Regions from separate parts of the Homo sapiens genome. Here all the other regions are linked to region 1. The links are contacts of gene promoters, found by promoter capture Hi-C in blood cells and fetal thymus (Javierre and others, 2016). All regions are on one chromosome and are shown on one strand. Each heading gives the region's core, a stretch centred on a gene start or on the middle of the fragment in contact. The rest is flanking DNA. Distances are from core to core; before and after follow the strand shown.

Region 1 (3,777 bases), core at 853-3,352:
GCATCAAACTTCTTAACAAAGTCTAGACCTAGAAGACAATATCATCAAAATTCTGGAAGAAAAAGGTTTCCAATCTAGAATGCTATACCCAGATCAACTATCCCTCCACTGTGAGGGTAGAACTGAGACATTTAGACATATATAAGATCTTCTAAAATTCACTCTAAAATACCCTTTCTAAGGAAGCCACTGGTGAAGGTGCTCCTCCAAAATGGGAGAGTAAACCAAAAAAGAGAAAGGTATGGGATTCAGGTTCAGCACAGGTAAAGGAAATCCCCAGAAAGAGGGAGAAGAGAACTCCCAGAATGTGTGACGGCTTAGAGAGCAAAGAACTCAGGCTGTGAAAATAAATCGAGAGATCTTCAGGAGGGATGTCACCAATTAAAAGGAGGACCGATAGACTGAAATTCATGCTTGAGTATTTCAGAAGAAGATTTACACTCCTGGTTAAGAGTCTGGTGAGATTAGTTACAGAGACAACTAAGCAAACTAAAAAGCAAAACAAAAACAAACACCCCCCACCAAAAAACAAAACAAAACAAAACAAAAAAACTCCATGTAACTATTGACTCCTAGGAAACCCAAAAGTTGGAGAAGAAAAGAAATATAATTATTTTATGCTATGTGCTCAGATGTGAATATTTTACAGTCATAATAATGTAAATAATGAATAAAGATTTAACTAAAAATGATAATATAGGTAAACTGGCAGAATGAGGAGGGGAAATGTGGGTGGTGAAGACTGAAGACAGATAAAGCTAGTCCTTATCTTCTATACTGTAGTTGAGCATTAATAGAAAATACGTAAAAATGAAAGACAAATAAGCATGTTATTTATACATATGAAGTTAAAGACCAGATGAAACAGCTACATGAATTGGCAAATGACTGCTCCTGAGGAGCAGCACTCAGGGGCGGGGAGGAACAGCTTGGAGACTGCTGTTATTCATAAACCTTTTTAAAAACCTTTTTTTTTTTTTGGAGACAGGGTCTCACTCTGTCACCCAGGCTGGAGTACGGTGTCATGATCAGAGCTCACTGCAGCCTCTACCTTCCAGGCTCAAGTGATCCTCTCACTTCAGCGTCCCTTGTAGCTGGGACCACAGGTGCGTGCCACCACACTTGGCTAATTTTTAAATTTTTTTGTAGAGATGGGGTCTTGCTATGTTGCCCAGGCTGGTCTCAAATTCCTGGGCTCAAGTGCTTCTTTCGCCTCAGCCTCCCAAAGTGCTGGGACTACAGACATGAGCTACTGCGCCCAGCCTTAGAAAACTTTAATTAAAAAACAAAAAGTCTTACAACTATTATGTATCCATAATAATTAAAAATTTTAAAATTAAAAAATAAAGTTCAAAAATTTATGTCATTTTGATATAAATAAAATTTAAATCAAAAGATAATGTGCTCTTTTTATTTTTATTTATTATTTACTTATTTTTGAGATGGGGTCTTGCTATGTTGCTTAGGCTGGCCTTGAACCCTGGGCTCCAGCCCTCTGATCCTCCAGCCTCAGTCTCCTGACTATACTGCTGGGACTGCAAGCTTGCATCACTCCATCAAGTACTGTTTTTAAAATGTCCTTATTCTGAATAAGGCTTTGGCGTTAGAAGTTTTGTAATAGCTCTTCCAAGGTAAGTGTGAACGGTGACTTAATCTTTTGTTATTATTTGTGTCCAGCTTCCTCACCTGATAGAGCAGGCACTCAACAAATACATGATGACATATTTTTAACAACCAATATGTGCGTCCCTGCCCCTGGCTCCATAGATTTGCAAGATTTGTGTGTCCATTCATAAGCCTTCCAAACGCAGGGCCTGCTTGCTGCCCTCTTTGCTCTGTGGGGCCCAGATGGCAGCCCCGGAGGCGCTGGTGGGAGGCTGTGTCCTGGGGTCCACCACTGCTCCCCGGTAAGCCAAGCCCGACTGCCCCTACATGGAAAATTCATCCCTCCTCCAGATGGGGGATTCAGGGCACCGCCACTTCCCACAACCCCGGGAATCTCCCTGGCCACAGTCCTGGCGGGACCCCCCCCATCCCCAGCTCACTGTGACAGAGTCCCCTGCACAGTCCTGGGACGGCTCCAGGTCGAAGTCCTGGAAGACGAGCCTCACAGCAAAGCCCTCTGGAGCCTTGATGTCCGTGCTGCTCTCTTGGCCTTTGCCATACGGCTCTGGGTACCCGGGGGATGTCAGCTGCTGGGGTAGCTCTTGGGCCAAGAGGACGGAGCCCCGGGTTGGGCAAGCCTGGAGGACTCCCCAGAGAAGCAGCCACCACCTGTGAGTTGGGGGGAGGGCAAGGTGGGGCCGCGCAGCTATGGCCGGAAGCCTGTGGGTGTGGGAGGAGCGGGGGAGCCGCGCTAGGACTCAGAGGCCTCGCGAGGCAGGGCTAGAAGCTGTGGCCTCACCCTTGAGGCCCGGGCACTTCCCGTCTCCTCCCTTGCTCCCCTTCCTCACCCCAATCCCTACAGCCTCCCGCGCAGCCTGAGCTCTAGGATTGTGGGTTTTCCATCCTCCGAAGACATCACCTTTGCTCATCTCCCAGGAGAGTCTCGTCCAAAGGAGGGGGGTGCTTTCTGCTTCAGCAGATCCCACCCCACCCTGGGATCCGAGGGAGCAATGGTGGGGCGAGTGAGGGTCTGCCGTAAATATCCCCCGACCACCCTCTGGGAAGGTGCTAGAGGCCACAGGCAAATTTCAGTCTCCCCATGGAATATCTGCTGTGCTGCTGCTGCTGCTGCTGCTGGTGTGTGTATGTGGGGGAGGTGTGTGTGTGTGTGTGTGTGTGGGGGGGGGGGGGATGTGTGTGTGGGGGGGGTAGGGTGGGGGGAGGGAGGGTTTGCGGCCACCCACCCTTTCTCTTCCCCTCCCGTCCTCTTCCCTCCTCCTCTGCCGGGGCCACACTCACATTGCGCCTGGACAGCCTTTGGAGTGAGGGCTTCTCCAGAGATATTTCCCCCACACTCTGGGTCCAGGCATCTGGAACTGGACATCTGGGACCTGCGAGAGAACTGGCCCAGGATAGGGAACAAAAGGTGAAGGCCGGTGGGGGAGGAGGAAGTTCCTGGAAATGTTAAGCAACTCCACAGTTCCCCTTCTCCAATTCTCCGGGCTGAGCGCCACCTGCCGTCTGACTCAGGAACAGCGGGCCCGCCGCAGCTTAGGGGAGAAACGTCCAAAAACCTCGCTGGCCCTCAGAGGTCAGGGTGGCAGGGCACTGACTCGACCCTTTTGTACTATTTAACATTAATTTTTGCCATGTGTGTAGGATGGCTCCTTGTGAGTTATGGCTGCTGCCTTCAATCAGCCATGTCTCTTCCTCCCCGACCTTTCCGTTCACGACATACCCGGGGAGCCTCCCTCTTGTAGAATTGAAGTTTGTGATCCTTGAACTTGAGCTTTCTCTTCCTTTCCCTCCTCCCCAAGCAGGGGTGGGGGACATGCGCTTAGGTGGTCTTTTGAATCCTATTCACAACCTCTGGAGGCTGCTTGTCCAGCATGGTCAGGGCTGGGGTCGAGCCCAGGTGTCCCTCAGTCCCTAGTCCCAGTCATCACTCAAGCCGTCACTCAAGCTTCTTTAGGCAGATACTAGAGCCCCTGCCTGCTCTCACCGCTCCCCGAGGAAGGACACTCACCCACAGCTTGGTAGGAGGCCAGAAGGCTCTTATGGAGATGGGTGGTCCCATCCTCAGAGAAGGCAGGTGTGTGGAAGGCCTTACGTTGTATGCACACACAAATGCATGTGCGCGCGCACACACACCTCTCAGAGAAGAATCTATTG
Region 2 (3,777 bases), core at 617-3,116, 500 kb before region 1:
ACACCTACACAGACACTTCACACTGCCAGCCTAAACCGCAGGCTACCTCATAGAGACAGAAGCCACTAGGAAAAAAGCCAAAACTATGTCCACTCACCAGGAGGAGGAGTGCCCTCCCTTCTTTTGCCCCTCTTCACTAGGCTATTACATCCTCCCCGAGCCCCCATCACTTCCCCACTCAAAACATTCCAGCAATCTGCCTGGCTGCTTTAAGCACTCCAGATCCTGCTGAGGAGCGCGATTCAAACTTCACACAGTTCAGACAGCACAGAAAACCGGTAACCGATCAGAAGCTAAAAATAATCAGATAGAGTGTAACCAGCACTCCCTCTTTCCTTTCCACAGCAGCAACCACAGGATCCTACTAGCACAGATGCCCGGCTGGTCTTTCAAACAGAATCCTCAACGCCCCCCTCCACCACCACCACCACAAGCCTCCAGGGGTCCCAGCTACCTGCATTCCTCCGAGGACCCACATACCAGGTAATGCCTGCCAGCCCAGAGAGCTCCCTCAACTGGGAACTGCAGAGCATTCCTCAAGACAGAGTGCAGCAAGCTGGCATCTCCGTGCCCAGGAGGCACATGGCTTCCACCCCCCTCACACCAGAGCTCCGCAGAAGGGAACCACTCCCTTCGGATACCCTCCACCTCCGGCTCTGCACAGAGACAGCGGAGCAACACAGCCCTGCCTCACCAGAGGAGTCACTCGGGAGAGCCCCAGATGTCTCCTTCCCGCCATGGGCCCTTGGGGAAGATGTTACCTGGGTGGGGTGGGGGCAGGCTGTTGTTCAAAAGTGCATCCATATCCTCCTCCTCACTGCCCGCCGAGCAGGGGGACGGGGAGCCCAGGCCCGACGCCATCCCCTTCCGCTCCCGGCCAGGGAATTGGCCCAGCTGCTCCTGCCGGCGGCCTGAGGACCTCTACACTGGCCCGAGTCACTGTGCGGGGGAGGGGGGAGAAACACAGAACAGTCAGTGACGCGCACTGTCCCCCTCCCCCACACCCACCCGCTCTTTCCGCCCCCCACCCCAGCCACCCTAGCAGGGCACCCGAACCGCTCAGGCTGAACTTAGTTCCACACTCCTCGGGGGCAGCCCGGAAGCCGGCTCCCCGGCAGGCGCCCCCACGGAGCGAGGGAGCGACGCCTCCGAGGGCAGGCTGGTGCAAGCGCGGGGAGGGGAGACGCGGGGCTGGACCGAGCGGGGTGTGACGGGGGAGGGGGTCCGAGTGGCAGCGGCGCGGGGGGGCCAGGGGAGGCCGCAGGCGGCGAGGCGCTCGGGGACACAAGGTCACTTGGGGGTGGGGGGGCGCCTCCCTGCGCCCGGGGAGGGGCCAGTCCCCAGACAGGGCAGCTCTCCAAAGGCTGTCCTCTGGGACAACTCAGGTTCTCCTCAAGAGCTGCGGGGACGAGGGGGCGTGGAGGCTCGGGCGCTGCGGGGGGCCGGAGGCAGGGACGCGGGGGGCGAAAGCGTCCCACCGGGAAGGGGGCCGGGCCACGTGTCCCGGGGGGCAAGTGATCAAAGGGCGAGGGGGTGGGCGCCGGGCATTGTGGGAGACCAAGCCGGAGGCGGGGGGTCGCGGGGAGCAAGACTCCGGCAGGGTTAGGGCGGGGGCTGGGGAGGAGGCCGGGCGCCCTGCAGGGCCAGGAAAGGAAGGGTCGGCTCCTCTGGGCAAGGGGCGGTCCGCGGGTCCGGAGACGCCTGAGGAAGGGGCGGGTGACGGGATGACCCTCGGGGCTGGTAGGGCCGTGAGGGGCGTCTCTTTGGGAACCCCGCGCTCTCCTCACCCCGGAGCCGCCGCAGGTCGCGCTGGGTCCGGCTCGGTGTCACTCCCGCTCCGGCTCCTCCTCGCCGCGGCCGAAGGGGGGAAAATGGCTCCGGCTCCAGCGTCGCCTCTTAAAGGGCCTGAAACACCGGCCGGGAAATCCCACCGCACAGGCCCCGCCCCCCCACGGACAGCCCATAATAACCTCAACCAACTCCAACCCCCCCCTTCCACTACCGCCACCCTCCTCCCCAGGTCTCCCGGGCAACCCCCGCCCCCTCGTCGCTCAGGCAACCACTGGCCACGCCCCCTTCGCAGCGGGCGCGCGCGCGTCACCTGGGCAACCGCCCACCTCCTGGCCATCCCATAATACACACGGACACCCCCCCCCCCAACACACACACACACACACACACACACACACACACACACACACACAACACACACACACCCTGCCCCCCCACATTTCATACACATATGCCAGAGACTGCTGACATCTCAAAATATTGCAGACCTTTTGCAACTAACCCTCTTAGACATCCCATAATAGACATCCTTTGCCAACTTCTTCTTCACTCTTGGACCTAATGCTAACATCCCATAATAATTCATCACCCCTCCCTCCCCATGGCCATCCCATAATAAGCACCCCTCGCAGCACTTATGCCTCATATCCCATAATATTCAGCCCCATCCCCCACAGACATCCCATAATAACCATCCTTCATCCACCCCCAGTTTGATATCCCATAATAGTCAGAAACTCACCCCCCCCCATACTACAACAACGGACACTCGGCCTCCTCCCACACACATCCCGTAATAATCAGTCTCCCACTTTCTATACTGACATCCCATAATAACTAACCCCCTAGAGCTGCCCTCAGTCCCTGCAGGCCAGGGTCTAGAGGCTCACATCACCCCCAGCCTTCCCTCTTCTAGCTCCACAGCCTATAGTAAGTACCCCTCCTCTATCAAAAAGATAACCCATAATGATCAACAGCCCTACTGTCGCCCCACAGATGGACATCTAATCTCTTTTCCTCTAACACTGGAAAGCTATCCCATAATAATTTTACTCTCCTACCCACATCCTGACATCCCATAATAATTGCAAGGAGCCCGTGGTCAACCAAACATACCATAATACTCCCAACACAACCCAGTGTCACATCCCATAATGCTTCATCTCCACTCTACCACCCCTATACCCTTCGAGCCAGGCATCCCATAATATTCATATTCTTCCCACCCCCATCTCCAGGCGCTGTCAGTCTATTCTAACACCCAGAGCAGGGAGGGCCAGGCAGGCTACCCACGCTTCCTTGTCCCCGCCCCCACTTGCACACACCTTAATCCCTTTCTGGGCCAAAGTAGTATCCTGGCAAAAAGCCTCCTGATGTCTGGGACCCCAGCTTCCCTCATACCATCATTTCCAGACACTCGGGGGCTGGGAGCCCACCTAGGGCCCCACCCAGTCCCACCAAAATCTAGGTATTTTCCAGATGCTTACCTCCAGCTCCTAAGTTTTGAGGAACACCAACCAACCAAAATACCAAGCTGACAGATGAAACATTTACATGAAGTCTAATTCACCCTACAGCATCCCATAATAATTACCAACTCCCATCCAAAGACTATCTCTCAACATTCTAGCAATCCTCCCCCTCACCACATCCCCAGGTCAGGGATCTTTCACCAACACCCCCAGGCCATTCCTGGGGATGGACATCCCATCACGATGTGAACTCAGGTTCCTGCTCTATACACACCAAGAGTGAAGGCCTGCCCTCCCGCTACTCACCACTACTCATGTTCATTCAACCTGTGTTGACAGAGTACCTAGCAAGGCCGAGCTCCGCACCATGGAGAATCAAGGAAGACCAGGGGGCCTCCCTTCAAAAAGCATAAGCAACCAAGCAAACTATGATACACGACAGAATGGTGCCAAGGGAGAACTGCTGAGCACTGTTTCCCAATTTCCTGTTACAGAAAATAAAATCCCACTGGTT
Region 3 (3,777 bases), core at 605-3,104, 450 kb before region 1:
TTTTTTTATTTTTAGTAGAGACGGGGTTTCACCATGTTAGCCAGGCTGGTCTCGATCTCCTGACCTCATGATCCGCCTGCCTCAGCCTCCCAAAGTGTTGGGATTACAGGCATGAGCCACCGTGCCTGGCCACCAGCCTTTGTTTTTTTTTTTTTTTTTTTTTTTGAGAGGGACACGGAGTCTTTCTCTGTCACCCAGGCTGGAGTGCAGTGGTATGTATGATCTTAGCTCACTGCAATCTTCACCTGCTGGGTTCAAGTGATTCTCCTGACTCAGCCTCCCAAGTAGCTGGGATTACAGTCACATGCCACCATGCCCAGCTAATTTTTTTTTTTTTTTAAAGTAGAGACTGGGCTTCACCATGTTGGACAGGGTGATCTCAAACTCCTGACCTCAAGTGATCTGCCCGCCTTGGCCTCCCAAAGTGCTGAGATTACAGGCATGAGCTACTGTGCCCAGCCTGTCTACCTCACTTTCTAAGCAGGAAGAAGCCACCTTAGATTCTTCCTTCTCTCTCAACCACTCAGTCATTCAGTCAGTCCTTTCATATTTAACTCCTAAATACTTCTGTAACTCCCTAAAATCAGGTTCTTATCTCTGTCCTGGAATGTTATCACTAATTGATCTCTGTTATCAACAATATCATGCTCCAATTTACCATATATTAGTCATTTTCCTCTATAAAAATCATACTCTACTTTAAAATGCAAACTTCTTCGTTTGGCTTAAAAGACCTTGTCCAATCTAGCCTCAGCCTCTTTCTCCAGTCTCCTTTCTCAATTTCTTACCTTAGATTCATAAATATCAAATACGCTGACCTCTGAGTCATAAATATCAAACACCCTTGACCTTGCCACAAACCCATCACAGTACCTTTGCGGATGCTTTCCCCAACCTGGAATTCCTTTTTTCTCTCCTCACTGGCAAATAACCTTCAAGACCCTATTCAAACATCACCTCCGCTGTAAAGCTTTTCCTACATCCCCAGGTAATTACCCCCCTTTTCTCCAGGGTTGCCTACCAAGTGTCCTTTTTAATGTATTTCCATTATCTCACTTGTCACAGTGTTTTATAATTATTTGCAGAATCTGTTTCCTACTAGATCGTGAGCTTCTTGAGGGCAGGAGCCTTGTCTTACTCATTTTTCTATCCCTAGTGCCTGCCATTATGTCTGACCCATAGCAGGACCTCAATAAATATTTGTTGAATAAATGACTCCGGGCCCTAAAACAAATGTAAGCGCACAGAGCAATAGGCTTTCTGCAGGGGTGGTTTACATAAATCGCATAAACACCAGATTTTCATTTGATGGGAATTAGATCTTTACTCCATGAAGAGAAGCGTTCTAGTTCATCATCTGACAGTGGTCACTCATCACCACCACTCTCAACCCCATGAGAAGCCACTTTTGAGGAAGAATGGAGTGGAGGAGAGGTCTTTACCGCTTCTCCAAATGGCAGTGTGTGATAACGATTCTGAACGACTATGGGGAAAAAAATCTACCGAGGCTGGAGACCCTGGAGAATGGGGGCAGCAACTATCTTCCTGGCCATGCACACTAGCCCTTCAAGACACGTCTCTAACCCCCACACCGCACCCCTCCCTCGTCTACACCCATCAGCGGGGCCTCGATCCTGCTGCCCCGCCCCCTCTTTCTCCGCACCCTCCAATATTTCCTGCCACAGAACCGCTTCATAATTGTGACCTTCTCGTCACTGGAACTTAAGGGCTACAGATCCTCTCATCCCTGATCCCCGCACCACTCTGCAGCCCCGACCCCCACCTCCAGCCTGCTCTTACTGTCCAGATAATGTTCCAAATACATCCCCGCAGCCATCTCGAAGCAAAACAAAGCAACTTCCGATCCGCCCCGGAAGTGACTGTAACGCGACAGGGGCCGAAGCCATTTTGCGGCTAAAGCCTTTCCGCCCTTAAAAGGAGAACTTCCGCCCTTAAAAGGAGAACTTCCGCCCTTAAAGGAGAACTTCCGCCCTTACTATATTACCGCCGGTACACATCCGCCCGACACTGAAACTTTTCCTTTTGCATGGTAGCCACGACCGCCCACAGTGAGGCGGCTGTAGCCCGCTTCCGCCCTTACAGACACCCCAGGACGCGACCGAGACAGGTATGACGTCACTGGAGGTCGCCATTTTGCATTCTCTAGCAAACTTTTTTCCCTCCAAAACGGGAATGTATGGTAATCCGTGCAGGGGTAACTGTTCACTTTAGGCTCATATTGCGTAAACATACCTTCTCAGCAACTGGAAGATCCAACTTTTTTTCCCTCTTTTGCAGAATGACTTTTTTCAAGCCAGTTAGTTTCTTAAGGAAGTTGGGGAAGAGTATCAGGCCTTGAGACATTTAAACCGTCTGAATTTCTATTCACTCACACAAACACCATCTCCCCCAGCATTATTTTTTTAACTTGAGAAAGATGATCACCTTTCTACTTATAAATACAAAGAATGACTCATAATAAAGCTATAATTCTGCACATCTTTTGTCAGAGCTCCTGTACGTTACACTAGAATACACTTTCACATATAAAATATTACTTCCTGCCTTGCCCTCTTGCTTTTTTTTTTTTTTTTTTGAGACAGAATTTTCACTCTTATTGCCCAGGCTGGAGTGCAATGGCGTGATCATGGCTCACCGCAACCTCCACCTCCCGGGTTCAAGTGATTCTTCTGTCTCAGCCTCCCGTGTAGCTGGGATTACAGGTATGCACCATCACGCCAGACTAATTTTGTATTTTTAGTAGAGATGGGGTTTCTCCATGTCGGTGAGGCTGGTCTCGAACTTCCGACCTCAGGTGATCTGCCCACCTCAGCCTCTCAAAGTGCTGGGATTACAGGTGCGAACCACTGTGCCTGGCCCCTCTTGCTACTCTCTAAGGGGGAAATCTCGTGTTTTTGTTTTCCTTTTGTTTATATGTGATGTTAGCATCATAATTCTGAAGGGATTGAGGGATGCAGCAGTATCACTACTGGGCTAGTTGGCTAGTTAGTTGCTAGCCATCACTCTAGTCAGCTATGGTAGAGTGATTTCTATGGTTTTCATCAGAATGGGAAGCAGTCAAGGGTATGAGAGGCTGCCAACACACTAGGCTGTCAACACACTGCCAACACAAAGGCCATAACCTAATAGTGGTGTTAGTAAGATAGTATTTTAGAGATAGCTGCCACCCCTCACACTTTTCGTACCCTCACACATCCTTCATAAGAATTACCAATGTCTTACGGCAAGTTTTTAAAGAGACAGACTTTCAGCTATATAATTTCTACCAAATATGTGGAGAAGAGGAACTTCCAACCCGGGGCGGATTGGAAGTTGCTTTGTTTTGCTTCGAGATGGATGCAGGGATGTATTTGAAACATTATCTGGACAGTAAGAGCAGGCTGGAGGAGGGGGTTCAGGGGCTGTAGAGTGGTGGGGGTATCAGAGCTGAAAGGATCTGTAGCCTGTAAACCCCAGGTTTACTAGTGTGCAGGTAGTAAGATACAGCAATAGAATCCGGGAAACTGCTCTAATTACAAAAGTCATGCTTTTCGGTAACTTGATCTCTGTGCCTGTTTTACTATACAATGAGACTACTACCTCCCTCATAGGGTTGTTGGAATAAGTGAGTGTGAGTGTATCCATAAAAAGAGTAGATTCTAGTTCTAATACTGGTGATGAAGTTAGGGCCATTAGGGCCTTTTCAAGAGTTGGTGAGAGTGGGAGGAAAAAGCAGTAAATATGCAGGGAGCTAAGAAACATTGGCATATTTGGTCA
Region 4 (3,777 bases), core at 555-3,054, 420 kb before region 1:
CTTCCAGACCTACTTCTGGAGTCTACTCCGTACAGTTTTATCCACTTCACTCCAGACTAACCATGAAGCAGTTTTTTTTTTCCCCTGAAAATTTCATCTTGCCATACCAAATTCAAATAACCCTGTGTCACAGATTCTAATCACTCCACAGACCCACTTCTAACACTCCACTGGACTATTTGGGATAGGAACTCCATTCTAAACTCAGCTCTGCTTGTTCCAGACACAGGAAAGCAATTCCATAAGGACTATATTGGCATTTAGGGTCTTTGTGTCCCAAAGCAGAATAAAGATTTCCCCTTTGGACACAAGGCAACACTATTCAGTGGCTTCACCTGAGCATTTCATATTTCATTCCTGATGAGCATTAGTAGGAATGGAAAGTGATGGGGGATAGCGCCAACTTTTTACACAAAAACTTCCTGACCCTCAAGAGATAATAGAAAAAAACTGATTTCTCTCCACAACAATCTCAGCATTACAATTGCTATTACTTTAAGTATTCTATCACATTGTGAAACACACACACGCCCCATTTGGTTGTGACCCCTTCTCCCCCAAAACCAGAAAAGCCATTAACCCAAAAATCATCTTACCCTCTCTCTCTCTTCCTCCTGCCGTCTTATTCCTTCTCCTTTCCAGGGCTCCTGAACTTTCTGTAAACAAATTGTCTAGGTTACAGGGGCCAGGCAGGGTGCAGCCACCAGAGAACTGTGGAGAACCTCAGGAATTATTTGTCAGCAGTCAGTCTGGAAGGCAGGCAGACCCCCCAGCCAGCAATCCAAAGACGGGTGGATATAATAACAGCAGTCTAGTGCTACCCTCTACGTGGATACAAGAGAAATAAATCCAATTCCCAGAAACTAAGACGAATTCTATCACCAGCGTTTGGGTTTCACTCCTAGGCTCAGAGACTGGTCCTTGTTCGTTCCCAGGCCACAGGTAACCAGGGGTCAGAGAACATTAGAGATGGAGGAGGAGGAGGGTCTGTGCCCCTGAGGAGTGGCTTCAGAAGGCAAAGCTGAGGGCTGGGGGATGCACAAGACCTTGTGGCAGGCACAGTGCCAGTTCAGGCCCAGCCACTTCCTCTAGCCTTCCCCCCACTTCTTCGAGGACTTCGCCCCCTGCCTACCCGAGGCCTTGTGCCAAGAAGTACCTCCCTCAGCCTGCACCGTGGTCTATCTACTGGAGACCCCAGCTGTCCCCTCAAAACCTTCGCTCCCCTGAGACAGTTCCTGGGAGCCTTCTCCTGATGTCGTCCCCTACCCCTTTCTCAAAGACCCTTCCTTGGGACGTCCCTCCTTCCCCTCCAGGGAGCTGAACTCTGCCACCCACCAGACAGGCACCCGCCCCCTAAACCCCCCCATTCCTTCCCATCGCCCGCTCCTCCACAACCACTTCCGGTTCCGGGACGGACACACACACAGTCACATCGTGGACCCCCCCTTCCCCGCCTGCCCAAGGAAAAGGGGAGGGGGGAGGAGCAAGCAGCTTGGCGCGCGCCGGCTGTAGCGGCGCGAGACTCACCGGGCGGCGACGGCTGCGGCGGCGCCAGAGCCTGAGCCAGGGCGCGGGAGGGGCGGCGTTTGCTGGGAAAGGAGGGAGCCGAGGAGGGTGGGAGGACCAGGAAGGGGCGAGGGAGGGGAAAAAGCGCAAGGCGCAGCGCGCGGGCACGCACTTCTGGAGCGAGACAGACCCACACACTCACACGCACGGAACGCGCGCGAGACACCCGCAGGGCGGGGGCGCGAGGTAGTGGGTGGCCCCCCCTCCTTGCTGCCCTCCCCTTGCACTCACCCGGAAGTGGTGCTGCAGCTCGTGCTCCCGCGAACCCCAGTTCCTCCACGCCCCCCTCCCTCCCCCCAACAGGCTCAGAGAAGAGCTCTGCGGAGAGAAGGCGGGAGCGCCGGAAACGAAAAGGGGGGAGGGAGGGAAATAGCAATGTAGGGGGGGCGCTAATGGAGAAAGAGGGGCGTGCAGAAGCCGAGTCACTTCCGGGAGTGGCTGGAACACTTCCGGCGCCGCTAGCGCTGCGAGATATTCAGGGCAGAAGTTACGATAACTCGGGGCGGAAATAGCTTCTGCCCAGCGACTGGGAAGAGGGGATGTGACGCTATAGCGGAAGTGAAGGCGGGTTCCGCTAGGGGCAAAAGCTGAAACCGGAGGACTCCGGCCCTGAGCTTCCGGAAGGGACATCTGGGGAAGGTGGGGGGGTGGAAACGCGACAGGTTCATGAATTATCCATCAAGGTAGGAGAGGAGGTGTGGGTTCTTCAGATGCTGGGACCCCGTTTCTCTTCCCTCTGGATGTTGAATAAGCTGATGTAGGAAATTACCATTATTTTTTCTGATACCCCCAAGAATGTCTCAATGCTTTGAATATGCGGGAAAGGACTAGGACGTATCCTTGTTTTTCGGAGGTCCCTACTTAGGTCCAGTTAGAAACTCTCCCAGCCATCAAAATCTGTCTCTCTGACACATCCCTTACTTTACTTTGGTCTTTTCTTGTTGCCCATACCCACATCTCTATCCCCTTACCCTGTTTTACTTAAATATAGCACTTATTACTGCCTGATTTATTGTTTGCTGTCCACCTCTCCCAACTAAAATATTGGCTACAGGACAGCGAGGACTGAATTGTTCGTTGCTGTATCCTCATATCCTGGCAGTTAAGTGGTCTGTAAACTCTTGTTGTATAAATGAACTATAGTTCATTATGAACACCTAAATATGAACCCTTTTAGGAAGCCTTGCCTGATTGCTCCAACCTGTAATGGTCCCTCTGAATTCCCATAGTATTTAATACGTACCTTTTATTGATATTTTAACTATTTCATACATGTGATTCCCCAGCAAGATTGTCAGTTCCTCATGGAAGGAAATACGTTGCTTTGCTGAGCATATAGTAAATGCTGAATATGTTGTTTGAACAAGTGAATGCTGTTACAAGCGTGCACCCCGACCTGGCCAGAATCCCCCTGGGCTCAGCTCTAAGCAGAACTGAGGTCTCTCCTACTAATGGTAAGAGCCTCTTGCTGAGAAAAATAACCTTTTTTTTTTTTTTTTAAAGACAGAGTGTCACCCTGTTGCCCAGGCTGGAGTGCATTGGCGCCATCTTGGCTCACTGCAACCTCTGCCTCCTGGGTTCAAGCGATTCTCCTGCCTCAGCCTCCCTAGCAGCTGGGATGACAGTCGCCCGCCACCACACCGGGCTAATTTTTTGTATCTTTAGTGGAGTCGGGGTTTCACCATGTTGGCCAGGCTGGTCTCGAACTCCTGACCTCAACTGATCCACCTGTCTCAGCCTCCCAAAGTGCTGGGATTACAGGCGTGAGCCACCACGCCCAGCAAAAAATAACTTTAACAGAAATAATTATAATGCTCATTTTACAGATAATGAAAATAAGCCTGTAAAGGATTAAGTGATTTTTTCCCCCAAGGTCAAAGCAAGAAAGTAACAAAGTACGCCTTTAAATATTTAAATAGATGATGCATTTCATTGTAATTGTAGTTTGTATCTTTTTTAAAGTGTCTGTTCCCTTTATCACATTTTTGGGCTCAGCACTCAGTCTCTGTTGACTGAGTAGCAACAGTTGGCAGAGTAAGGATTTTAAGGGCTCAGATGTGACCAGACCTATTGCTGTGTGGGTTAGAGATTGCTGATTCAAGAAACCTTGACATCAGGGGCTGGTATTGAAAGGTGGGAACAGGAAATAGTAATAATAGCTATACGTTCTGGTTCTCCTCCTGCTCTTTTCCTATTTATGTTAACTGGGCA
Region 5 (3,777 bases), core at 513-3,012, 380 kb before region 1:
CTCTAAAAAAAAAAAAAAAAAAAAAAAAAAAAAAGTAAAAAATGAACAAATAAAGCACTTGGCGCAAAATAGAACAAATACGGGTTATTTTCTCATCCCTTCATCTTACATGTTTTTCCCTTCTCTCTAAAAATGATAAGCTTGGCCGGGCGCAGTGGTTTACGCCTGTAATCCCAGCACTTTGGGAGTCTGAGGCGGGCGGATCACGAGGTCAGGAGATCGAGACCATCCTGGCTAACACGGTGAAACCCCGTCTCTACTAAAAATACAAAAATTAGCCGGGCGTAGTGGCGGGCGCCTGTAGTCCCAGCTATTCGGGAGGCTGAGGCCAGAGAATGGCGTGAACCCGGGAGGCGAAGCTTGCAGTGAGCCGAGATCGCGCCACTGCACTCCAGCCTGGGCGACAGAGCGAGACTCCGTCTCAAATTAAAAAAAAAAAAAAAAGATAAGCTTGGGGCGGGGAGGGGTGGATGCAAAATAATAATAATAATGTTTGGACTCATTAATTCCTTGCTTCCTTCAAACTCTGAATATTTTATTATGCCTTTGATTCCTTCTACTCACTTTTGTTTCACCTTTTCCATTCATTTCTTCTTCTCCTCTTCCTCCTTTCTCTTTCCTTTCTGTGTTTCTGCTTATTTTCTATCACAAACCAAAATATGCGGACCATAAACTGCATCTGCAGTTCCTTTAGCCCTAACAGACTACGAGTCCTATTTCTCTTTATCTTTCTCTTTTTCACTTTCTTGTCTTTCCATTACTTACAAGTTTCTTAATTTTCCTGAGTTCAGTTTTTCCATCTGGAAAGTGGAGATAACAATTACTAGATCGTTGTATCAGATGAATTAAGTAATGCTCATGGCTTAACACAAAGGCCAAGATGTCATTAACTTTACCCTCACTTGACCTTCTGCAAGCCTGTTGTGAAATATAAAACACTATAGAAATGTTAGTTGTTTTTGTTTTTATTAAAGTATCATATTGAAGTAGAAAGATGGTTTTGAGTTTGAAAAGCTCCAGATAAATCCTTGGATTTTTATGAGCCTCAATTTCCTTTTCTGTAAAATGAGAACCACATAGGGTTTTTTCCTCCCCAAGAAATTAAGAGTCCATGTACTGAAAGCATCATTCTACAAGTATTAATACATATGTAGTAATCATGGTAGAGGGTGTCCTGAAGTCACAGGGGAATATTTGTGAGGATTCAACGGAATAAAATTTTAAAAGATGTCTGACCAATAGTAAGCACTCAATACATGTTAGCTTTATTCTCTCTTTTATTTTTCTCGCTTCTTTTCTCCTGCTCTTCAAAAAAGTGAGTGGTTGAACCACCTAGGTGATCTCTGCTGCTAAACTTCTATTATTGATTTTTGTTTGCTTCCTCTCTGCCCCTTGTTTCCTCATCCCGTTTTTTTCCCTCTTCTTCACTCCTTCCGTTACAGCTTTTCTCTTGCCTCAGGTACCCAGTGCAGTCCTGATCTCCAGCTCTCCAGCGGCTTAGAACAGACACAGAATGGGCCGGGACCAGGGACCCACCAGAGACGTCTGTAGTTAATAGCTGGCGCTCTTCCACTAATAAAGTTTTATTGAAATAAAGCATTTAAAAAGGCGCCCGTCATTCTTCCCCCAGCGACCAATCGAAGAGTAGAATGCCTGCGTCCCTCACTGGAGCTTCAGCGGTCGGAACGCGGGGGTGGGGCATGTCCTGCCGAAATTTGCGTCCTTAGAGCGGAAGTACGGCCGGAAGCCCGCCATAGAGTTTAGTGGCCAGAGCGACTCTTCAGGGAGGTGGCAGGAAAGGCTTGGAACAGCTGCCGGAGGTGACGGAGCGGCGGCCCCGCCCGGTGCGCTGGAGGTCGAAGCTTCCAGGTAGCGGCCCGCAGAGCCTGACCCAGGGTACGACGAAGCAGTCGGCGGGAGCCCACGGTCGCTGGGCGGTGTCTTTAAGGGAGGGGGCGGAGCCACGTGTAAGCTTCAATGGGGGTGAGGTCACGTGGTTGTGGGCGCGTGCGGGGCAGCAATGGAGAGCTGAGGGAGCGTCGTCAGGGTGGACACCATGCGACACCCATTTCTCCTTTGCATCCTGTGTCTTGGGGTTCAATGGGGTGCACGTGATGGGGCTTGGGGTTAGGCCCAGGGGAGGGGGTGGGTGTGGCAGCCTTGCGAAGTGGCTGACTTTAGGATTCCTAGATCAGAATTTTAGACCGCTCCATGTCTGATTCCTCACCGCAGAACCGACTTAGTGCCTTTACAATCCAGTCCCTCAGCCTTGTGCTTCCCATCCGACCAGCCATCGGGGACCTCTAGCTTCACATCCTCTTTCCTTGCAGCTCTGGACATCCTGAGCCCAAGTCCCCCACACTCAGTGCAGTGATGAGTGCGGAAGTGAAGGTGACAGGGCAGAACCAGGAGCAATTTCTGCTCCTAGCCAAGTCGGCCAAGGGGGCAGCGCTGGCCACACTCATCCATCAGGTGCTGGAGGCCCCTGGTGTCTACGTGTTTGGAGAACTGCTGGACATGCCCAATGTTAGAGAGGTGGGTTGCTGGCTTGAATAGCCCTCAGAGAAGCGTGGGCAAAGGTTTGAATTTGAGAATGGGTGGGCAGGGCTCATTTTGTGATCCAATAACCATTCAGTTGAACAAGAAAACAGTGATAATTAAATGCCAACTTGCAGAAGTAACCAGTGAACAAGCAAACCAGCTCTCCTTTGGAGATAAGGGATCTGTAAAGCCCACTATTTTTCATTTTAAGCAAAAGAGCATCCTATTCAGAATAGGAAACCTGATTTCCAGCCGGTCTCCACCAGTGTAGTAGCTGTTAATTCTCATGTCACCTTGATCAGGTCACTTTTGTTTTAGGGCTTCAGCTTTCTCTTTTTTTTTTTTTTTTTGAGACGGAGTCTTGCTCTGTCACCCAGGCTGGAGTGCAGTGGCGTGATCTCAGCTGAGTGCAAGCTCTGCCTCCTGGGTTCACGCCATTCTCCTGCCTCAGCCTCCTCAGTAGCTGGGACTACAGGCGCCCGCCACCATGCCCGGCTAACTTTTTTGTATTTTTAGTAGAGATGGGATTTCACTGTGTTAGCCAGGATGATCTCGATCTCCTGACCTCGTGATCCGCCCGCCTTGACCTCCCAAGGTGCTGGGATTACAGGCTTGAGCCACCGCACCTAGCCAACTTTCTCTTTTAAAAATGGAGACAATACTGCCCCTCTCTGTTGTGGGAATAAAGTGAGATTATGGGAAAGTGTGAAGTCTGGTACAAGTGGAGAGTGAACATGTTAAATTAGCATGCCCTTTTCTTCCCTATGTGCAGCATATGCTAATCTATTCAAGTTAGCTAAGGGAGAACGTGTCTTTTTCCCAGAGACACATGGCAAACTGCTAGGAACACAGCAGAGAGAACCGTTCACACAAAAGTGGCAGAGTTAATTTACAATCAGAGGAGGCAGCCTGAGTCCTGACATGCTGACAGTGGTATGTGGGTAAACTGAGCTAAGTTATTTGGGGCCTGTGGTTTAACCTTTTGGATCACTCTGTGATATGGAGAAAACTGGCTGACTTTTCCCTGCTTTCATCTGCAGTGGAACTAAAGAGTATCAATCAAAGTGATGAAAAAGAAGCACTTGGCTGGGTGCGGTGGCTCATGCCTGTAATCCCAGCACTTTGGAAGGCCAAGGCAGGTGGATCACCTGAGGGCAGGAGGTGAAACCGATATGGCAGAATCCTGTCTCTGTTAAAAATACAAACAGGGCTGGGCACGGTGGCTCATGCCTGTAA
Region 6 (3,777 bases), core at 901-3,400, 350 kb before region 1:
TCCTATTTTCCCTTGCCTTTTCATTTTTACTGGTCCCCTGGATCAGCCACACAGTCTGTTTAATCTATGAAAATGTGAACACTCTGAACAAACACACACCTATGGTAAAGTATGTGCCAACAGTGGCCCTGATGACCTGAAACACAGCAGCCAGAGTTGCTCCCTGACTTTCTACTTAAGGATTACTGGTGATGGAGGTTGAAAAGGTGGAAAAAGAGGCAGTTTAGGGCCAAGGTCTAAAGTGTTGCTATCCCATATGGGAAAATAGCCACTAGCCACATGTGGCTATTTAAATTTAATTAATGGCCGGTAGCGGTGGCTCACACCTGTAATCCCAGCACTTTGGGAGGCCGAAGTGGGCGGATCACGAGGTCAAGAGATCGAGACCATTCCTGGCCAACATGGTGAAACCTCATCTCTACTAAAAATACAAAAATTAGCCAGGCATGGTGGCGCGTACCTGTAGTCCCAGCTACTCGGGAGGCTGAGGCAGGATAATTGCTTGAATCCTGGAGATGGAGGTTGCAATGAGCCGAGATCGTGCCACTGCACTCCAGCCTGCCAATAGAGCGAGACTCCGTCTCAATAAATAAATAAATAAATAAGTTTAATTAAAAGGCCGTGCGCGGTGGCTCATGCCTGTAATCCTAGCACTTTGGGAGGCCGAGGTGGGCAGATTGCCTGAGCTCAGGAGTTCGAGACCAGCCTGGGCAACATGGTGAAACCCCGTCTCTACTAAAATACAAAAGAAATTAGCAAGGTGTGGTGGCGTGTGCCTGTAGTCCCAGCTACCTGGGAGGCTGAGGCAGGGGAATTGCTTGAACTTGGGAGGCAGAGGTTGCAGTGAGCCGAGATCATGCCACTGAATTCCAGCACTCCAGCCTGGGTGACAGAGTGAGACTCTGTCTCTACAAAATAATAATAATAATAATAATTAATTAAAAGTAAAAAAATTCAGTTCCTCAGTTGCGCTAGCCACATTTTCAAGTGTTCAGTAACCACACGACTAGTGGCTACTATGTTGGAAAGTGCAGATAAAGAACATTTCCATCATCACAGAAAGTTTTGTTGGACAGAGCTGGAAGGCACCCATAAATGTTGCCTTCCTTCTGGACTTTGTTGAAGGCCCATGAAGACATGTTGAAGAGTGAATGTGGGGGAGAAATTGAAGGCAGGACAGAGAGAGTCAGGCAATAGCAAACTATTCTAGGTGTAAAAGCAAAGGCGAGGCCGGGTGCGGTGGCTTACACCTGTAATCCCAGCACTTTGGGAGGCCAACACAGGTGAATCACGAGGTCAGGAATTTTAGACTAGCCGGGCCAAGATGGTGAAACCCTGTCTCTACTAAAAATACAAAAATTAACTGGGCGCAGTGGCGGGTGCCTGTAATCCCAGCTACTCAGGAGGCTGAGGCAGGAGGAGAACTTGAACCCGGGAGACAGAGGTTGCAGTGAGCCGAGATTGCGCCACTGCACTCCAGCCTGGGGAATAGAGCAAGACTCTCTCTCGGAAAAAAAAAAAAAAAAGGCAAAGGCATTCCCGAAGGAGGGCAGGGGGAATAAGAAAAGCCAATCAAGATTCTGAAGAAGGGCCCACGTGGTGGTTCACGCCTATAATGGAGGCTGAGGTGGGTGTATGGCTTGAGCCCAGGGGTTCCAGACCAGTCTGAGCAACATGGTGAAACCCGATCTCTATGAAAAATAAAAAAATTAGCCAGGTGTGGTGGGGCGTCTCCAGTCCTAGCTACTGAGGCTGAGGTGGGAGGATCACTTGAGCCCCTGGAGGCAGAGGTTGCAGCGAGCTAAGATCGTGCTACTGTGCTCCAGCCTGGGTGACAGAGTGAGACCCTGTCCCAAAAAAAAAAAAAAAGAATCTGAAGGAGAGGTACAAAGGTGAAACCCATTCTTTTTTTACTGGGGAGAAATTTCATGGAGAAAAGTAGGAAAACCACAAAAACTTTGGTTGTGATGTTCAAAACATAAAAGAGACTTCCAACCAGGACATCTTCCCAGTAGTTACTGGGAAGATCTCAAGTCAGACGGAGGGAAGCCAGTATCCTGGCAGCATGGTGTGTTTTCCCAGCTTCCTTGAAGAAGGTTGAGAGAGCTGTGAGATTGAGTCCAAAATGGTGCCACTGGGCTAGGAAATAGATGGTTTATTGAGCTTTCTTGTTTGTCCCTGGTGTGGTGTTAGATACTATGCCACAGGAGACATTAGTATGGGTGGAAGACCAAGGAAGGCGATTGGGTGTTGAGAACAACATATGGGAAAAAGGGATACGGGTCTGCAAAGTCAGGAGGAATCAGGGAGGCACTGCAGAAAAGGAGTACCCACGGAGACGGGACGCATGATGGATGTGCCTTAATGTTGCCTGGAAGATCATCTCTCCTTATTTTTAACACCCATGGAGGTAACACACTCAATCATGATCCGGCCAGGTGCGATGACTCATGCCCGTACTCCCAGCACTTTGGGAGGCCGAGGTGGGCAGATCACCTGAGGTCAAGAGTTCGACACCAGCTTGGCCAACATAGTGAAACCCCGTCTCTACTGAAAATACAAAATTATCCAGGTGTGGTGGCACATGCCTGTAATCCCAGCTGCTTGGGAGGCTGAGGCATGAGAGTTGCTTGAACCCAGGAGGCAGAGGTTGTAGTGAGTGGAGATTGTGCCACTGCACTGCAGCCTGGGTGACAGAGTGAGACTCTGTCTCAAGACAACAATAATAAAAAAACATGATCGAAGTTAGGCTAATTTAGGTCTTCCTCTAGGACTCCATCTCCTCTCAACTCTCCACTGACTTTCGTTTTGAAAAGTTTTAGATTGAAAATAAAAAAAGCAAAGGAAAATGGGGTAAATGGGGGATAGAAAATGAGGTCACTGGGAATGGAATGGGGATAAAGTAAAACGAGGAGTGGAGATAGCCCCCCCAACTTTCAGGTCTCTGTCTTCCAAGGCCTTGAATGATAACTAGGCCTTCCTTACCCCTTAACCAACAGGAGAAATAGGCACACTGAAAAAATCCAGGAAGCTGGAGAGGGGGAAGAATTCACCAAGAATGAGATGGAAATAACTAGAATTGAACACTTCCCACACATGGTATCAAGGTAAATTTCTAGGATGTCAGGCCAGAAGTCATCGTTTCCAGGGGGCTCAGACCTTCCTTGTTCTCACCTGGTCACCTTTTTCCCGCTTTCAGAAAATGTGTAAGAAGCACATGCTTCCCCCATTCAACTAGTGGGAGAAATTCTCAATTGGACTGTAGAGTAAGGTAATTCTAGGAATAGGCAAGCCTCCACAAAGCCTCAGAAATAGTTCCACAGAGAAAAGCAAACACAGGCCATTTAGCACCGTTGGCCCCAGAGGCTCTGAGGCTAACCCCTAGGACTGTCGGGTGGCTTTCAGATCCCACTCACTCCACATTCATCCCAAGTCTCACTTCCAGCTTCTTTCTCATGAAGCCAAGACTTCAGAAGACTGGTTTGTTGTCCAACCAGAGAGAGATGGCTAAAGGATGCTTCATCCACCAGGAAAGGAATTCGATCCAGGCCTCCAGCTTTCTAGATCTTTTCCCTGGGGTCCCTCGGACCCTAGTGTTCAAGCTCTTAGATTCTCAAGGCACTCCCTTGGGCTTTGGGGCAGGATTCCCATTCTCTGCCTCTCCATCTCTCTGGAATTTTCCACTGCAGCTGCCTCTGCTCCCAGACACCCCTCCCTGGGCAAAATTCCCGGCTCCCTCCGCCTCCCCTTCCCTAATCACACCTCATTCCCACCCCC
Region 7 (3,777 bases), core at 922-3,421, 320 kb before region 1:
AGTGTGGCCTGCAGACCCTTGGGAGTCCCTGAGACCCTTTCAGGGGATCTTCAAGGTCAAGCTATTTTCATAAAAAAATACAGGATGTTATTTTCCTTTGTCACTATGTTGACATTGCAATAATGTTGCAAAAACAATCTGGATAAAACTGCTGCCTTAGCATAAATGAAGGCAGTGGTGCCAAACCATATGATAGTCATTGCATTCTTCACTGCCAGGTACTTACAGTAAAAAAAGAAAAAAAATTAATGCCACTTTTACTTAAGAATGCCCTTAATGAGGCCGGGCGCAGTGGCTCGTGCCTGTAATCCCAGCACTTTGGGAGGCCGAAGCGGGCAGATCAGGATCACCTGAGGTCAGGAGTTCAAGACCAGCCTGGCCAACGAGTGAAACCCTGTCTCTACAAAAATACAAAAATTAGCCAGGCATGTTGGCGGGTGCCTGTAATCCCAGCTACTCGGGAGGCTGAGGCAGGAGAATGGCTTGAATCCAGGAGGCGGAGGTTGTAGTAAGCCGAAATCATGCTGCTGCACTTCAGCCTGGATGACAAAGCAAGACTCTGTCTCAAAAAAAAAAAAAAAAAAAAGAGAGATCAAGACCATCCTGGGCAACATGGTGAAACCCCATCTCTACTAAAGATACAAAAATTAGCTGGGCATTGTGGCGCATGCCTGTAGCCCCAGCTACTTGGGAGGCTGAGGCAGGAGAATTGCTTGAACCCGGGAGGCAGAGGTTGCAGTGAGCCAAGATCACGCCACTGCACTCTAGCCTGGGCAACAGAGTGAGACTCCCTCTCAAAAAAAAAAAAAAAAAAAAATATATATATATATATATATAGAATGCCTTTAATGAAGCAGTAAATACTAATTTTATTAAATCTCAACCCTTGAGTACGGTGTGTCATGAAATGAGAAGTAGCACACAGTACTATATGCTACAGATGAAGTACAATGCTGTCAAATAGGGGTACTTGTGTTAATTGTTGGAGTCGCAAGCTGAACTAGAGTTTTCTTTTCTTTTCTTTTCTTTTCTTCTTTTCAAGACAGGTTCTCACTCTGTCACTCAGGCTAGAGTGCAGTGGTGCAATCACGGTTCACTGCAGCCTCAACTTCCTGGGCTCAAGCGATCCCCCCACCTCGGCCTCCTAAAATGCTGGGATTATAGGCATGAGCCACCACTCCCAGCCCCACTTTTTTCAGACTGGAAAACGCACACTCACATGTGCATCTTTAAATGATCACTTGGGCTGTGGTATGGAGAATGGCGACCAGTGAGGAGGCAGGAGCTGTTGTCCGAGCAAGGGATGATATTGGCATCTTGGATTGGCATGGTGGCAGTAGTGGTAGTGCAGAGTGACTTGGGTAGATTTTGGAGCCATTTAGAAGGTAACATCCACAGGAACTGGTAAATAAATACGTGGGAGAAGTTGGGTGAAGGGGGTGTCAAAGATTACACCCAATTTATTTTGCTTGGGCAAGTTGGTGGATGGTGAGCCCCTCACTGAGTGAGAAGCCTGGAGAAGCAGGTTTGGAGGGTGGTAGTATGCAGGTGGTATGCATAGTTGGGGATGTGTGTTGAGTTTGCTATGTCCGGTGAGCTTCCCAGTGGAGATGTCCAATGGGCAGACGGATACTCACATAGAGAGTTCATGGTAGATTCGGGCTAGAGGAAAGCACCTGAGGCCTGGCCAGAGACGCCTAGAGGAACAGAGCCTGGTTAACAGTCACTCCTGGTGTCTCAGATATTCTCTGCTCAGCCCACGCCCTCTCTTCCACACTGGGCCACCTATAAAGCCTCCACAGATACCCCTGGGGCACCCACTGGACACATGCCCTCAGGGCCCCAGAGCAAGGAGCTGTTTGTGGGCTTACCACTGCTGTTCCCATATGCCCCCAACTGCCTCCCACTTCTTTCCCCACAGCCTGGTCAGACATGGCGCTACCACTAATGGAATCTTTCTTGCCATCTTTTTCTTGCCGCTTAACAGTGGCAGTGACAGTTTGACTCCTGATTTAAGCCTGATTCTGCTTAACTTTTTCCCTTGACTTTGGCATTTTCACTTTGACATGTTCCCTGAGAGCCTGGGGGGTGGGGAACCCAGCTCCAGCTGGTGACGTTTGGGGCCGGCCCAGGCCTAGGGTGTGGAGGAGCCTTGCCATCGGGCTTCCTGTCTCTCTTCATTTAAGCACGACTCTGCAGAAGGAACAAAGCACCCTCCCCACTGGGCTCCTGGTTGCAGAGCTCCAAGTCCTCACACAGATACGCCTGTTTGAGAAGCAGCGGGCAAGAAAGACGCAAGCCCAGAGGTAAGGTGGTCAGACTCGGCTTCCTTCCCCGGAGCTGAGAGGGAGGGGAACGTGGGGCAGATGCACAGGAATGTGCTCTGCCCAGTTGTCTGCCCACAGCTCTGGCCACCTTCTCTTGCATTTCTCTTGGAACTGGTCATGAGCAGCGATTTCCCACTGGAACTGTGAGCTTCCAGAGGTCAGAGACTGTGCTAGACTCCTCTCTGCAGCCCCAGCGTGCACAGCTCAGTGTCCAGAGCAATGGGTGCTCCTTAGAGGAGTAGTGACCTAAATAGCAAGATCAGAGAGGGAGTGAAGACTGGAGACTATCCCAGGCTGGGAAAGGCGTGGAAGGCAACTAGTCGTGGGCAGTTGAGGGGAGAAGACTGGAAGAGGGGAAAAGAGGAGAAAAAGAGTGAAGAAGGGGAGGGAAAAAATTAGAAAGAATAAATAAATATAAGGTGGGAGGAAACCTATAAAAAAGAAATGATGAGGAAAAACATAAAAACAAGAAAAAGAGCAAAAGAAGTGGAATCTAGTCTAGAGAAAATTCTTGCAAAACCAATTTTCCTTAACGGGACAATCTCCAAAAATTGACACCAAATATCATACTTGCAGCATTTCATAAGTCGCATGATCTATGTAATAGTCTCTTTTAACTACCTTTTGTGTTTCTGTGTGTATTTTTAAATTTTTGTCTGCTTCTTTGCTCTTTTAAGATTTTTGAACAATGTCTAAAGGCACTTCTACTCTAGTTAGCTTTAAAATGATTCATGAAATAGGAAAGCTAAAATTCTCAGAAAGTGTTGAAACTGAGCTTTTGCGTATGAATTGCCCTAAAAGTTGCAGATACATATCTTTAGATAAATATGTCATTTAAGAAACGGATTCGAAAAGAATTGGTGGTAGGGGTCTCATGAGGCCGGGAGAGTTACAGAAGGATGTGCAGCCCCTCCTGGGCCTGGCAGGGTGTGAGGGAGAGTGAGGACTCACTGTCCCTCCTGAAGGGAAGCCCTGTGCCATCTCAGCCTTTCCGCCCTCAGACCTTTCCAGCCCCTGAGACCTCATGGCCTTGAAGCCGTGCTATCCCCAGTGTCCTCTGCTTTCCCCTCATAGGCTTCTTCTGGGAGAGAGGTTTCCTGGGGTACGTTCTGATCCCTCAAAACGGAAAGGCCCTGTTCTCAATAATTCAAAGATTTCACTCTGAGTGGGATAGTGCTTCCTGAATGCCCTGCTCTTGTGGTGGACATTTTTATCGGGGCAAGGCTAAGAGCAGGGCCTGATGGGGGAAGTCACTGCTACTTCACATTTTGACCAATAATTCCTTGTGCTGTATCAGATGCTGTAGGCTGATACAAAATGGCCGCCGCCCTCAAAGTCAGATGAAAGAGCCCCTGAGGACAGCGTTAGAGACACTCGGGAGATGATTTCCCTCTTTCAATGTGGGAGCACTTACATAGGAGAGGTCTATATCTAGATAAAAACTCCTCCC

Evidence for each region. The method cuts DNA at HindIII sites, captures the fragments that hold promoters and counts their contacts. A CHiCAGO score of 5 or more calls a contact.
Region 2: the fragment with the promoter of CHD4 here is called in contact with the fragment with the promoter of C1RL-AS1 in region 1 in 5 of 17 cell types (naive CD4 T cells, activated CD4 T cells, total CD4 T cells and 2 more); the score reaches 12.8 in naive CD4 T cells.
Region 3: the fragment with the promoter of ING4 here is called in contact with the fragment with the promoter of C1RL-AS1 in region 1 in 8 of 17 cell types (non-activated CD4 T cells, naive CD4 T cells, activated CD4 T cells and 5 more); the score reaches 11.8 in non-activated CD4 T cells.
Region 4: the fragment with the promoter of ZNF384 here is called in contact with the fragment with the promoter of C1RL-AS1 in region 1 in 5 of 17 cell types (non-activated CD4 T cells, naive CD4 T cells, activated CD4 T cells and 2 more); the score reaches 10.3 in non-activated CD4 T cells.
Region 5: a contact is called between the fragment with the promoter of COPS7A here and the fragment with the promoter of C1RL-AS1 in region 1, in 14 of 17 cell types (non-activated CD4 T cells, naive CD4 T cells, activated CD4 T cells and 11 more). The highest score is 18.8, in non-activated CD4 T cells.
Region 6: a fragment that was not itself captured here is called in contact with the fragment with the promoter of C1RL-AS1 in region 1 in 2 of 17 cell types (naive B cells and activated CD4 T cells); the score reaches 6.0 in naive B cells.
Region 7: the fragment with the promoter of CD4 here is called in contact with the fragment with the promoter of C1RL-AS1 in region 1 in 10 of 17 cell types (activated CD4 T cells, non-activated CD4 T cells, naive CD4 T cells and 7 more); the score reaches 14.1 in activated CD4 T cells.

The regions. Positions count from the first base shown.
Region 1 is chr12:7,106,206-7,109,982 of GRCh38, forward strand. It overlaps C1RL-AS1 (C1RL antisense RNA 1), which reads left to right and starts at 2,103. Exons shown (of 12, transcript NR_026947.1): 1 at 2,103-2,276; 2 at 2,468-2,742. C1RL (complement C1r subcomponent like) reads right to left here and starts at 3,009. Exons shown (of 6, transcript NM_016546.4): 1 at 2,905-3,009; 2 at 2,046-2,274. The coding sequence starts at 2,975. RefSeq lists enhancers at 2,029-3,228, 2,061-2,230, 2,871-2,950. The HindIII fragment of the contact is 2,026 bases long and covers 1,541-3,566 here.
Region 2 is chr12:6,605,513-6,609,289 of GRCh38, forward strand. It overlaps CHD4 (chromodomain helicase DNA binding protein 4), which reads right to left and starts at 1,867. Exons shown (of 40, transcript NM_001273.5): 1 at 1,788-1,867; 2 at 762-939. The coding sequence starts at 861. LOC124902867 (a long non-coding RNA gene) reads left to right here and starts at 374. Exons shown (of 2, transcript XR_007063193.1): 1 at 374-483; 2 at 3,603-3,777. RefSeq lists enhancers at 438-597, 2,338-2,487 and silencers at 948-997, 1,178-1,237, 1,648-1,747. The HindIII fragment of the contact is 30,599 bases long and covers 1-3,777 here.
Region 3 is chr12:6,661,265-6,665,041 of GRCh38, forward strand. ING4 (inhibitor of growth family member 4) reads right to left here and starts at 1,855. Exons shown (of 8, transcript NM_016162.4): 1 at 1,801-1,855. The coding sequence starts at 1,837. RefSeq lists an enhancer at 1,826-1,885. The HindIII fragment of the contact is 5,227 bases long and covers 969-3,777 here.
Region 4 is chr12:6,687,571-6,691,347 of GRCh38, forward strand. It overlaps ZNF384 (zinc finger protein 384), which reads right to left and starts at 1,805. Exons shown (of 12, transcript NM_001385745.1): 1 at 1,528-1,805; 2 at 597-656. RefSeq lists silencers at 1,654-1,763, 1,844-1,923 and an enhancer at 1,657-2,283. The HindIII fragment of the contact is 17,984 bases long and covers 1-3,777 here.
Region 5 is chr12:6,722,284-6,726,060 of GRCh38, forward strand. It overlaps COPS7A (COP9 signalosome subunit 7A), which reads left to right and starts at 1,763. Exons shown (of 8, transcript NM_001164094.2): 1 at 1,763-1,896; 2 at 2,331-2,535. The coding sequence starts at 2,374. RefSeq lists enhancers at 1,688-1,897, 1,928-2,067, 2,198-2,417. The HindIII fragment of the contact is 1,412 bases long and covers 449-1,860 here.
Region 6 is chr12:6,760,381-6,764,157 of GRCh38, forward strand. No RefSeq gene overlaps it. Among named protein-coding and RNA genes, the nearest start is that of PTMS, 4.1 kb to the right of the region's middle. The HindIII fragment of the contact is 5,304 bases long and covers 1-3,777 here.
Region 7 is chr12:6,787,357-6,791,133 of GRCh38, forward strand. CD4 (CD4 molecule) reads left to right here and starts at 2,172. Exons shown (of 10, transcript NM_000616.5): 1 at 2,172-2,306. RefSeq lists enhancers at 1,656-2,213, 2,029-2,078. The HindIII fragment of the contact is 6,468 bases long and covers 1-3,777 here.